Regions from separate parts of the Homo sapiens genome. Here regions 1 and 2 are each linked to region 3. The links are contacts of gene promoters, found by promoter capture Hi-C in human tissues and cell types (Jung and others, 2019). All regions are on one chromosome and are shown on one strand. The core of a region is centred on a gene start or on the middle of the fragment in contact, and the rest is flanking DNA. Distances in the headings are between cores, read along the strand shown.

What was found. Contacts are between HindIII fragments. The study calls those that stand out against the background at their distance.
Region 1: a contact is called between the fragment with the promoter of DNAJC27 here and a fragment that was not itself captured in region 3, in 1 of the 25 tissues and cell types used here (lymphoblastoid cells).
Region 2: a contact is called between the fragment with the promoter of EFR3B here and a fragment that was not itself captured in region 3, in 1 of the 25 tissues and cell types used here (spleen).

The regions. Positions count from the first base shown.
Region 1 is chr2:24,969,981-24,973,609 of GRCh38, forward strand. It overlaps DNAJC27 (DnaJ heat shock protein family (Hsp40) member C27), which reads right to left and starts at 1,975. Exons shown (of 7, transcript NM_016544.3): 1 at 1,838-1,975. The coding sequence starts at 1,924. It overlaps DNAJC27-AS1 (DNAJC27 antisense RNA 1), which reads left to right and starts at 2,132. Exons shown (of 3, transcript NR_034113.1): 1 at 2,132-2,252. RefSeq lists enhancers at 1,386-1,515, 1,469-1,987, 1,526-1,635, 1,896-2,005, 1,988-2,506 and 2 more and a silencer at 1,686-1,765. The HindIII fragment of the contact is 11,912 bases long and covers 1-3,629 here.
Region 2 is chr2:25,040,108-25,043,549 of GRCh38, forward strand. EFR3B (EFR3 homolog B) reads left to right here and starts at 1,969. Exons shown (of 23, transcript NM_014971.2): 1 at 1,969-2,212. The coding sequence starts at 2,206. RefSeq lists enhancers at 977-1,926, 1,927-2,875 and silencers at 1,833-2,452, 2,583-2,662, 2,773-2,902, 3,233-3,362. The HindIII fragment of the contact is 5,946 bases long and covers 319-3,442 here.
Region 3 is chr2:24,419,669-24,423,272 of GRCh38, forward strand. The region is part of intron 2 of LOC105374329 (a long non-coding RNA gene); the gene reads left to right. Among named protein-coding and RNA genes, the nearest start is that of ITSN2, 61 kb to the left of the region's middle. The HindIII fragment of the contact is 6,231 bases long and covers 1-3,604 here.

The DNA of each region.
Region 1 (3,629 bases), core at 725-3,224, 550 kb after region 3:
TATTGTGTAATCCCACGTAAGGAAAAAGTATATCTTTCCATTTGCCTAAGTAATTTATCTCCCTTTGTAGAGTTTGAAACTTGTCTTCATATAGGTGCTGCCTATTTCATGTTAAGTTTAAACCTAGGAACTTTATTTTTGTTGTAACTGTAAATTAAAATTGTTTTTCAATTACACATTCCAACTGAATATAATTTGGACACAATAAAGTTATTAATTTGTGGGTAATAATTTTGCTTTATTGAATTTTTATAATGTTTCTAATAGTTTTTCAGTTATTTCTCTTTGGGTTTCCAGGTAAACAATCGTATTATTAGCAAATAATGTTAATTTTACCTTCTCTTTTCTAATATTTTTATATTCTCTTACTCTTGTCTAATTGCACTGGCTAATAAAACTAGAAAAATGTTAAGTAGATGTGGTGACACTGGGCATTCTGAGCTGCTTCTAATGTTGTATCATTAGGCACAGTAAAATTACTTTTTTTTTTTTTTTTTTTTTTGAGACGGCGTCTCACTCTGCCGCCCAGGCTGGAGTGCAATGGCGTGATCTCGGCTCACTGCAGCCTCTGCCTCCCCGGCTTAAGCGATTCTCCCGCCTCGGCCTCCCAAGTAGCTGGGATTAAAGGCGTGCACCACCATGCCTGGCTAATTTTGCATTTTTAGTAGAGACAGGATTTCACTATGCTGGTCTTGAACTCCTGACCTCAAGTGATCCGCCCGCCTCGTCCTCCCAAAGTGCTGATGTATTACAGGCCTGAGCTAGCGTGCCCAGTCCCTAGAAAAAAAAAAACACCTCGTACACAGCTGACGTTCAAAAAAATGTTGACTTTCAGTGAATACTATGCTAGCACATACACACAAAAGTAGTACGGGATCATGCTACACAGAAATAAAAAACACTAAGTAAACATTTACTGAGCATCTCCTGGGTGCCAGGCACTGGACTAGGCACTGCCTTAACAGCTCTTTCGGAGTTGATTTTGAACGCATACAACGACGGAAAGAGCACCGCAGTGGGAATGTGAAGACTTAGGTTCTAATCTTTCCTCGGTCACTGATTTGATGACCTTGGGAAGTTCTTAACCAACAGATTCCACTTGCCCAAAAGGAAAGAATTTGAGTGAAGAGGAGGCCGTCTTGGAATTCATAAGGGAAAAGGCCTCAGGTTACCTCTGGCCTTCCCTCCCCACGTACTAAAGGAGAGTTTATAGCTGATGAACCACAGATGGGGCAGAGAGAAGGGCGGTGGAACTAACAGATATGGGGACACCACCAAAAATAAAACACAACGCAAAACAAAACAGCGCGGACCCCGGCCATCCCTTGCACCTCCCCTGTGAAACACGTCAACGTCAGTTACGCTCTCTCGTGACGGGAATGCAGAATCTGGGCTGCCGGGCACCATTTCGCGAACCCCAAATTCTCACACGCACCCCATAACGTTCCGCCGGCTCCCAGGCCCGGCTGGGGGAACTAAACTTTCATCCTCCATCTCCCGGTCCCGGACGGCCCCCTAGAACGCGGGCAAGGTATCTAGGCCGACGGCCCCTCATGGGGACCCAGGCCTTCTTACTCTTTTGGGGGTACATTCAAGGCTTAGAGGCCACCCCAGACACCATCTCCGGAAGAGTGACGTCGGAGGACGAGGGGGCAACGGAAAGGTCAAAAAGGTCGGGGAGTTTCGTTCGCGGAGCCGCACCCCTCGGCTGAGACCCGGGCCTGCTCGGGGGCGGAGAGGAGGCCGGGCCCCAGGCTGTTGAGTGGCCGCCCTTCCAGCCAATGGACACGTCGCCCCGCCACGCTGGGGCCCGCCCCTCCCGGCTCGCTGTACTCACTTTCCCCACTTCGGCGTTGCCCATGGAGATGACTTTGATGCGGAGAGACCTGCCGGGCTCCTTCCGCTTCGGCATGTTGGCCTCCATGGCCCTGGCTCTCTCGGGGCCACCCGCCTCGGTCTCTTCTTGTGCACCGCTGGCCCGTCCCTCAGGCCTCCTCGTCCAATGGCGGAGCCGCTGCTCTCGTCACCGCCTCGCCTCCGCTGCTCGCCATCCCCGCCGCTGCCTGGCAGCAGGCGCGGGCGGTTGGGAGCGTGGGGAGCCGGGGGAGGGAGACGGGAGTCTCGCGATGCTAGCGCGGGGCTGCTGACGTCATCTGCAGGCCCTGGAGACGCGACTGCAGTTACCGAGTTTCTAAGGCCTCGTCCCCTGACGGGAAGGCGGCGTTGGGGGGCGGCTGGGTTTACCCTTCGAGGTGAGCGCGTCCTTGTTTTCAGGGACGCCCGGACGGGAGGCGTTTGTTGCTTTCGCAGCCGAGTGGTGGAAATGTATTGGCTCTTCAGGGCGGGTCTGGTAGTGTCTCGTCCGTTTGGGAGTGTTTTTTTTTTTTTCTGGATTCTTTTTCGGTTCCATGGGCCGGGCTGCTGCTCCTCTTCCCCCTCCAATATTTTGTTCCCCTTGCTCGAGATCCCCGAGAGGCAGACCCCAAAGCCAGGAAAGTGGGGAGGTCGGAACCCTGGTTCTGGAAGAGGGCCTTGGGCAAGGCGTGAAGCGATTCTGAATCTGGTTCCTATTGTTTTTTATTTTAAATGGAGTTGTCTATTTGGAGTCAAGGCAAGAGTGTTTAGTCTTGGCCCTCCTATTACAGATCTCTGATGGATTTGTTGACTCCTCTGTGGGAGAAAGGCTTGGTCTACTGCAGGTGTTAACGCTAAGCCAGGCTGGAGCTGTGGACGTCAGTTTCCTCAGCTCCCCGCTGTTCGCTTCGAACGTGACCTCGACGTCTGCTCTCCCCTTCCCTTTAGCTGACAATGTGACAGTGCTTGAATAAAAGTCAGTCTGACAGGAACGGTAATTTTTTTTCAGTGAATATCTTCAGTTACAGAAGATAAATAGAACTTGACAATGATTATTTATAGTGCCCTGAAAAAAAATGGCTGCCAATTTCCCTGTATATTACAAAGACAAAAGTAGCATTGCTTCTTTTCTCACCTAACTTTAAACATCTTAAGGGAAGTGCATTACAGGAAGGCAATGAGCAAAGGCTCAACATTTCACAGTAAAGTCAGATTTTCCACATTTTAATTTTAAAATGTGTTTTTTAAACATTAAGTTTTTTTTAAGACAAGTTTATTCTGGATTGTTTTGATAATCAAATAATATAACTTAATTCACTGAAGCTTCTAAAATTATTTACAAATATGAAATATAAGTCCTGGTTAGAATTTGGATAGTTTTAAAGCTTAAAAGAATCCACATGCTAACTTCTCAGTATGATTTAATAAATCAAATTACTAAACATGTAATTTCTTCGACAGTTCACCTTTGGCCCTGTAATAGGGTAACTGGTATTGTGGAAGAATAATTATAAAATGTCAAATCTTCAGCTGTTATGATTGATTAAGTATGGTGCTGTTGAGACTAAGCAGTAAAACATGCCACAGATTTAAATTGATTACTATTTTTTTCATATTGATGGGGTTTTTTTTGTTTTTGTTTTTGTTTTTGAGACAGAGTTTCCCTCTTGTTGCCCAGGCTAGAGTGCAGTGGCACAATCTCTGCTCACTGCAACCCCTGTGTCCCGGGTTCAAGCAATTCACCTGCCTCAGCCACCCGAGTAGCTGGGATTACA
Region 2 (3,442 bases), core at 719-3,218, 620 kb after region 3:
CTAGACCTTTCATTCTTTGAAGACAGACACTGCATTTCCTTCTGTACTGTAGACACCAATGTTTCATGAGTATATTTTGTGTTGAGCAGAATTGTGGGAAGGGAGTGTCTCTGGGTGATCATATCAAGCTAGAGCTGAGATTCTCCTTCCTGCTCCAGTTCAAGTCTGACTCTCAGTCAATCTTAAAGCCACCTGGCCTGGTCCTGGAACTGAAGAACAGAGACAGAGGTTATTTGTGAGATGCAGGGAGTGTGTGCCCGGGGTAGGGGGGTCTAGACTAAATGTGTGTTCCAGGAACCATCCCAGGGTTTCCCTTGGGGCTGGCATGCTGCTAAGAGAGTCAAAGAGGTCAAGGAAGAAGAAGAAAACCTGGAAACAGCAAGAGAGTGGGGCGCGGGCGGGAGGTGGAGGCCCAGGCCAGAGAAAAATAGGAAACATAAGTTTTGAGTGCAACAGACTGAGCACTGTTTCAAGAGTCTGGCAACCTGGATTCTTTCTCTGGCTCTGTTCCTGCCTTGAGCCATGAAGGAAGGAAAAAATATACATGAGTGCCCACTGTGTCATTTCATGTAGATTTTATTCCAGTTTCCCAACAGTCCTGCAGGAAGCTGGGGTTGAGAGAGTAGATCATTGGCCTACAGACACACAGCCCAGCCTAACAACATAAATTAACCTCTCAACGTTAAATGAAGTAAAATGAAGTTCAGTTCTTAAGTATCTTTAAGTTCCTTTCCTCTCTAACTTCTACTAGTAGAATATTTCTACCAGTAGAAAAAAACAAAAGAAAACCCAAACAACTCTCAACCATGGGCCAAGAGAAACTAAGAAATCGATATTGAAAGGCCAGGAGGGGCAGGAGAAGTGGCTCAGGCCTGTAATCTCAGCACTTTGGGAGGCCGAGGCGGGCGGATCACTTGAGGTCAGGAGTTCCAGACCAGCCTGGCCAACATGGTGAAATCCCTTCTCTACCAAAAAATACAAAAATTAGCCGGGCGTGGTGGCACGCACCTGTAGTCCCAGCTACTCTGGAGGCTGAGGTGGAAGAATCGCTTGAACCCAGGAGGCGGAGTTTGCAGGGAGCCGAGATAGTGCCACTGTACTCCACCCTGGGCGAGAGTGAGACTCCATGTCAAAAAAAAAAAAAAAAAAAAAAAAAAAAAAAAAAAAGACGGGAACGTGTGCAATGTAAAGAAGGCTGGATGAGAAGCCCAGGGAAGTCCTGAGCTAGCTTAGGAGAGATCTTCAGGTGTGGGCGTAGGCATGAGCCGCTGCCTCTCTGTGCCTGTTCCTCATAGGGTCACGGCAGGTGCAGAGCTGGAATTCAAGTCGGCGCTGGGGCTCAGCTGGAGAGGATCCTGGCGGCAAAGCTTGCGAATTACACATATAAATCAGGGAGAGGAAAAGCAAGCGGACTTCCTGCAGCCCTTGGGGGTTGGGAGTGGGGTGCGTTTCCTGCGTCCCTGACCCGGGAAGGACGCTGTTTGGTGGTAGCAAGCACCTAGCCAGAGAGTGGCTGGGCACCTAGCCAGAGAGTAGCTGGTAGGGCGCAGCTGAGGGCTGGAGGGCTTCATCAGAGAACGGCGCTCAGCTAAGGTACCTAGCCAGGAGAGGGTGGAAGTCATTCCCCAATTCCCATCCTTGCGCCCCCCGGCTTAGCCCACGCAGCCTGGACAGAACTGGAGGAGGGGTGCACCTGCAGCTCTCAGCGCCCCGGCTGACCTCGAGGACCCCAGGTTAGGGAGAGCTTCCGAGCGCTCCGACAGGAGCAGGGAGTTGGGGTGGGTAGCTCCGCAGGTGCACGCTGCGGCCCTTAGGGCGACAGCCTCGGAAAAGGCGCATCTCCGGCTGTGGGTTTCTCGGGGGCGGGGCGCAGGGGCGGGGCGGGGCGAGGGGCTCGCAGAGGCCTCGGGTTGGCCGAGCCGGGAGGGAGGAGCATTAGTATTAGCATAGCCCCCGCCCCCTGCGCGCAGCAGTGCCCAGCAACCCGAGCGGAGGCGGCCGCTGCAGCCCGGCGCTGAATGGGCTGGCGGCGCCCGGCTCCGTCCTGCCCGCGGCCGGCCCCCGCGTCTGCTCCCTCCCCGCCCGGGCCCCTGTCGGCCGCCGCCAGTCCCCGCCCCGACTGTGAATGAAAGGCGGGCGCCGCCGAGGGCTGGCTGGGAACGCCGCAGCGACGCCGGCCTCTCGAGAGGCGCGCGCCCCGCCGAGATGTACGGTAAGGAGGGCTCCGCGCCCGGGCCCGGGCCCGCGGGGGCGACTCCGCAAACTTCCCCGGCGCGGACCATTGTCCCCCTGCACGGCCCTGGCGCGGGGCCAGGCCGCTGACCTGGTGCCCGGCGGGGCTGTTGCGGTCGCTCTGTGCGCGCGCGTCTGCGCTGCGAGGACAAAGATGCCTCGGGCCGGGGACCCTGGGGTCCTCTCCAGGCCCGGCGCGTGCCGGTGCTGGGCGGTGGTCCTTCGGGGGGCGGAGGCTCAGGGGAAAGCGGGTCTCCCGGAGCCGAGCAGACCGGGAGTGCTGGAGGAGGTGGTCGTGTGGCAGCATTTGCGGAATTAACAAAAGCGGTTTGTGCCTGGGAGTTTTCTGTGGGAAGCCGGTCCAGGGCTGAGGGAGACGCCCGCGGCCGGTCGTCTGCGCGGCTCGGAGAAGGCGGGAGGCGGCGCCGGCGGCGCAGAGGCCCGGGGAGCAGCCAGTGGCCGAGTCTCGTCTCGCCCGCCTGAATGGACTCGGCCTCTGCCTGCCCCTGCCGCCCCGCGGGATCCAGGTTCACCAACTTCCAGATTTTCCCTCCGCAGTGATGAAGGGAGGAGACGCTGCTGAGAGGGTGCAGCACAGCCCTGACCTCTCCCCGCCTCCACCGCCATCCCCTCAACTGCCGTGCAACAGTTAGCCAGACCCTCACGATGCACGGCTCTGCTTGATCATTTGCTAGGACTCCCTCTGGTTTTGCAGGCAGTGTGGGTGAAGAAGAGAGAGCGCGTTGGGTCCCACATTGCAGCTCTGATGAATGGAGCACTGGAGACCTAGACCAGTCTAGGAATGGACTGCATTCCTGAGCCTGCAGCCCACCAAGGGCTGTGCGTGTGTGTGTGATCCCGGTAGACATAAGTCCATGAAAACCCAGGTCTCTGGCAGCTCTTCTAGTGCCAGCAAAATAATTGGAGCTGTGCTCACCTCCCACCCCCACTGCAAGGTAGGGGCTCAGGCTGCACTTGAGGGGTCAGTGTTTGGAGAAGAGTGCGTTCCCAATTTAACCCATCACTGAGGCTGCTCGGCTGCTCAGCTGCCTCGCTCCGCGAACAGACTGTGAGTCACAAAGTTTGTTAGAGGCAGAGGAAGCTGAGAGCCTGGTGGAAAGGCTCAGCAATTGGTGGGCCCCCCTACTGAGAGAGAGAGAGAGACTGACTCAACTTTTTCATCGGTCTCCTTCCCTGCCCAGTTGCTCAG
Region 3 (3,604 bases), core at 715-3,214:
TCAAAAGACATCATTTGAGTGAAAGGCAAGACACAGATGGGAATAAAATATTTGTATTTACATATCTGATGAAAGACTCCTGTCCAGAATATATAATGAACTCCATATCAGTAAGCAAGACAAACCAATAAAAACTGGGCTAAGACTTGAACTGGTACCTCACAATAAATAAACACATGAAAAGGTTCGAAGTGTCAGGGAAATGTAAGTGAAAAAACCAATGAGGTGCTGTTCCCAGAATGGCTAAAACTAAAAGGAAAACCAAATGGAGGCAAAGATATGGAGCATGTGTTCCTGATTTAAATTGGTACAGCCACGTTGGAAAACTTAATGGTGCCAAAGTGAAATATACATATACTCTATGACCTAAAAATTCCACTCCTTTGTATATTCCTAATGAAAATGAATGCTTATATTCACCAAAAGACATGCACAAGGATGTTCATTGCAGCTTTATTCATAACACAAACGGAAACAACTCGAAAATTCATGCATTAATATATTGTGGCATAGTCATATAATGGAATACCACACAATATTGAAAAAGAATGAACTACTGCTATCCACAACTATGTAGATGACTGTCACAGGCATAAGGTAAAGTGAAAGAACCTGGACATAGAAGAACATCTACTATATGTTTTCATTTATAGGACATTCAACAATAGGCAAAACTAATTTATGGTGGATGATAGAGATCAAAACAGCAATTACTTTTGACTGGAAGGGGGCAGGAAGGAGTCTTCTTGGATGCGGAGAATGTTCCATATCTGTAGCAGAGTGGTAGTTACATGGGTATGGTTACTTGAAAAAAAAAATCCATCAGACTGTACATCTAAGACTTTATGTAATTCTACCTCAAAGAAAACATTAGTGCCAGCTCATTTTTCATCTTCAGTTGCTTTGTCATTTTTTTCCTTGAACTCTTGTATCTCTGCTTTGAGTGCTTGTTATATAGAGATTATTTTTACTTTAGTTCCTAGAGTTTATGGAGATTTATGGTAGTCTCACAGTTTTACTTTTCTCAATTTCAGTTACCAGGGTCCAAAAATAGGTGCAATGCAGAGAGAGAAATCATATTCACATAACTTTCATTATATTACTTTATTTAATTTGTCCTATTTTATTAGTAGTTATTGTCATTAATTTCTTACTGTGCCTAATTTTTCATGATGATAATTATTTTTTGAGATGGGGTCTTATTCTGTCACCTAAGCTGGAGTGCAGAGGCTCCATGATGGCTTACTGCAGCCTCAACCTCCTGGGCTTAAGTGATTCTCCCATCTCAGCCTCCCAAGCAGCTTGGACTACACGCATGCACCACAATGCTGACTAATATTACTTTTTGTAGAGGCAAAGTTTTGCTATGTTTCCCAGGCTACTCTGGAACTCCTGAGCTTGAGTGATCCTCCTGCCTTAACCTCCCAAAGTGCTGGGATTACAGGTGTGAGCCACTGAGCCCAGCCTTACTGTGCCTAATTTAGAAATTAAACTTTATCAAATAGACATGCACATATAGGGGGCCAGGCACGGTGGCTCACACCTGTAATCCCAGCACTTTGGGAGGCTGAGGCGAGTGAATCACTTGAGCCCAGGTGTTTAAGACCAGCCTGACCAACACGGTGAAACCCCCTCTCTACTAAAAGTACAAATATTAGCCGGGCATGGTGGTGCATGCCTGTAGTCCCAGCTACTTGGGAGGATGAGGCAGGAGAATGGCTTGAACCCAGGAAGTGGAGGTTACAGTGAGCAGAGTTCACGCCACTGCACTCCAGCCTGGGCAACAAAGTGAGACTCTGCCTCAGGAAAAAAAAAAAAAAAAGCACATATAGGAAAAAAACATAGTATATAGGGTTTGGTACTAAATGTGGTTTTGGGCATCCACTGGGGGTCTTGGAACGTATCCTCTGTGGATAAGGGCAGGGGACTACTGTATTTGGTCATGATTTTCACCAGTTTTGAGGCAAGATGTTTCTGTATTCTTTACCTGCCAGTTGTTTCCCTATTGATTTCCTCCTTTCTCCTTCTTGTATTTTCCTAAAGATTTGTGTGCTGTTTCTCTTTTAGTTACTTCTCACCTTTGAATGAGGGCACTTTTCCTGCAGGGTTGACACACACTATTTCCAATGGGCAACATCCAAATTGTCTTCTCTCCAGGGGGCGCCATTGACGTGGAATACAACATGAATAGCGTCTCCTAGAGCCCCTGCCTCCTAGACAGCCTCTTTGCTATGGGAGGCACCAGAGCAGAGTGGCAAACCCCTACCTGAGTCCCCATGATCCCAGCAGGGATTCATATGTGTGCTTGTGTGAGCTGGTTTACCCTTTGCTCTTCTACAGAGAGAGGCTAGCATCTGCAGGGCTGCTTATGACTGATAGCTGTCCCTCCACGCTGTGTCATCACGGTGCCAAGAGTCTTTCCTCACCCTGGTGCCCCTGCCCCTTTGTGGTCTCAAATGGGGTCCAAGGGAGCCTCAATAACTGGCCTGCACAAAAGCTTGTTCTAAGCCAGATATTTTGGTTTTGCATCCCAGAGTATCCACTTGTGTTGGACAGTTTGAGTCCTGCCAGCTGTGCCTGCAATATGCAATCTCTAGCTATTGGTTTGGATCTCCTTCTTACCTTAATTGGATTATCACCATAGAAGACAGCCTTCCTTCACATATATTAAAGTTCCAGGTAAAAGCAGCTTAGTCATTTCATCAAGATAAAGTTTCTTCTTGTTGCTTTCAGGTGATTTAAAATATTTTGTTCTCACACACAATGCTGCAACTGTACATAACTCAGCTTCTATATATGCAAGTGTATCTGCAGAACAAATGCCTATAATTAGAATACTGGTTAAAAAGGTAAGTGCCTTTATAATTTAAATAAATACTACCAACATACCCTTCCAGACATTTTACCAATTTATATTCCCATTGGTAACCATGCCCATTTCCCCAGACCCTTGCCTCAGATAACAGAGATATAAGTGCACTTAACAGTATAAAGGAAAACCCTAAGACTGATACTATAATTAATTACGTTGGGTCAGATTCTTGGTTTCAACAATAAAGTTTATACTAACTAGCTTAGGCAGAAAGGGATTTATTAAGTAGCTCATATAAGCATTGGAAGGGCTGGAAGAACAGGCTCTCAGCTGAGCTTCCAGTAACAACTCTCAGAACCATAGTGTGGAACCGGCCTGGTGAGATGGCTGCTGCCATGGCCATATCCAGGACGATATTCCCTCTAAGCGAGCTGCTCCTCCAACTGCAGAAACACGTCCCCCTGCTGCACAGAACACTCTTCACTCAGAGAGCTGCGTGGCTCCCTCCCTGGGCCAATTTCCAGTAGGTATTCCTGCCCGAGTCTCAGCTCAGGCCCCACAGTTGGCTAGTCTCTTCTGCCTGAAGTCGATTCAGTTGGGTTTTTCAGACATTGCTGAGTCCAGCTTTGTGGGAGGCTCTGTGCCATACAGCTGGCCTGACCATTGCCCATGGGAAGCCAGCTCAAGGGGGAAAGCCTGAAGGCTTTGAGCACTTATCCCAAAGGTGAAGATGTAGCTCATCAAGGCACCTGGTATAAACAGCCTGATCTTCATGATTTTACCCTCACCGGG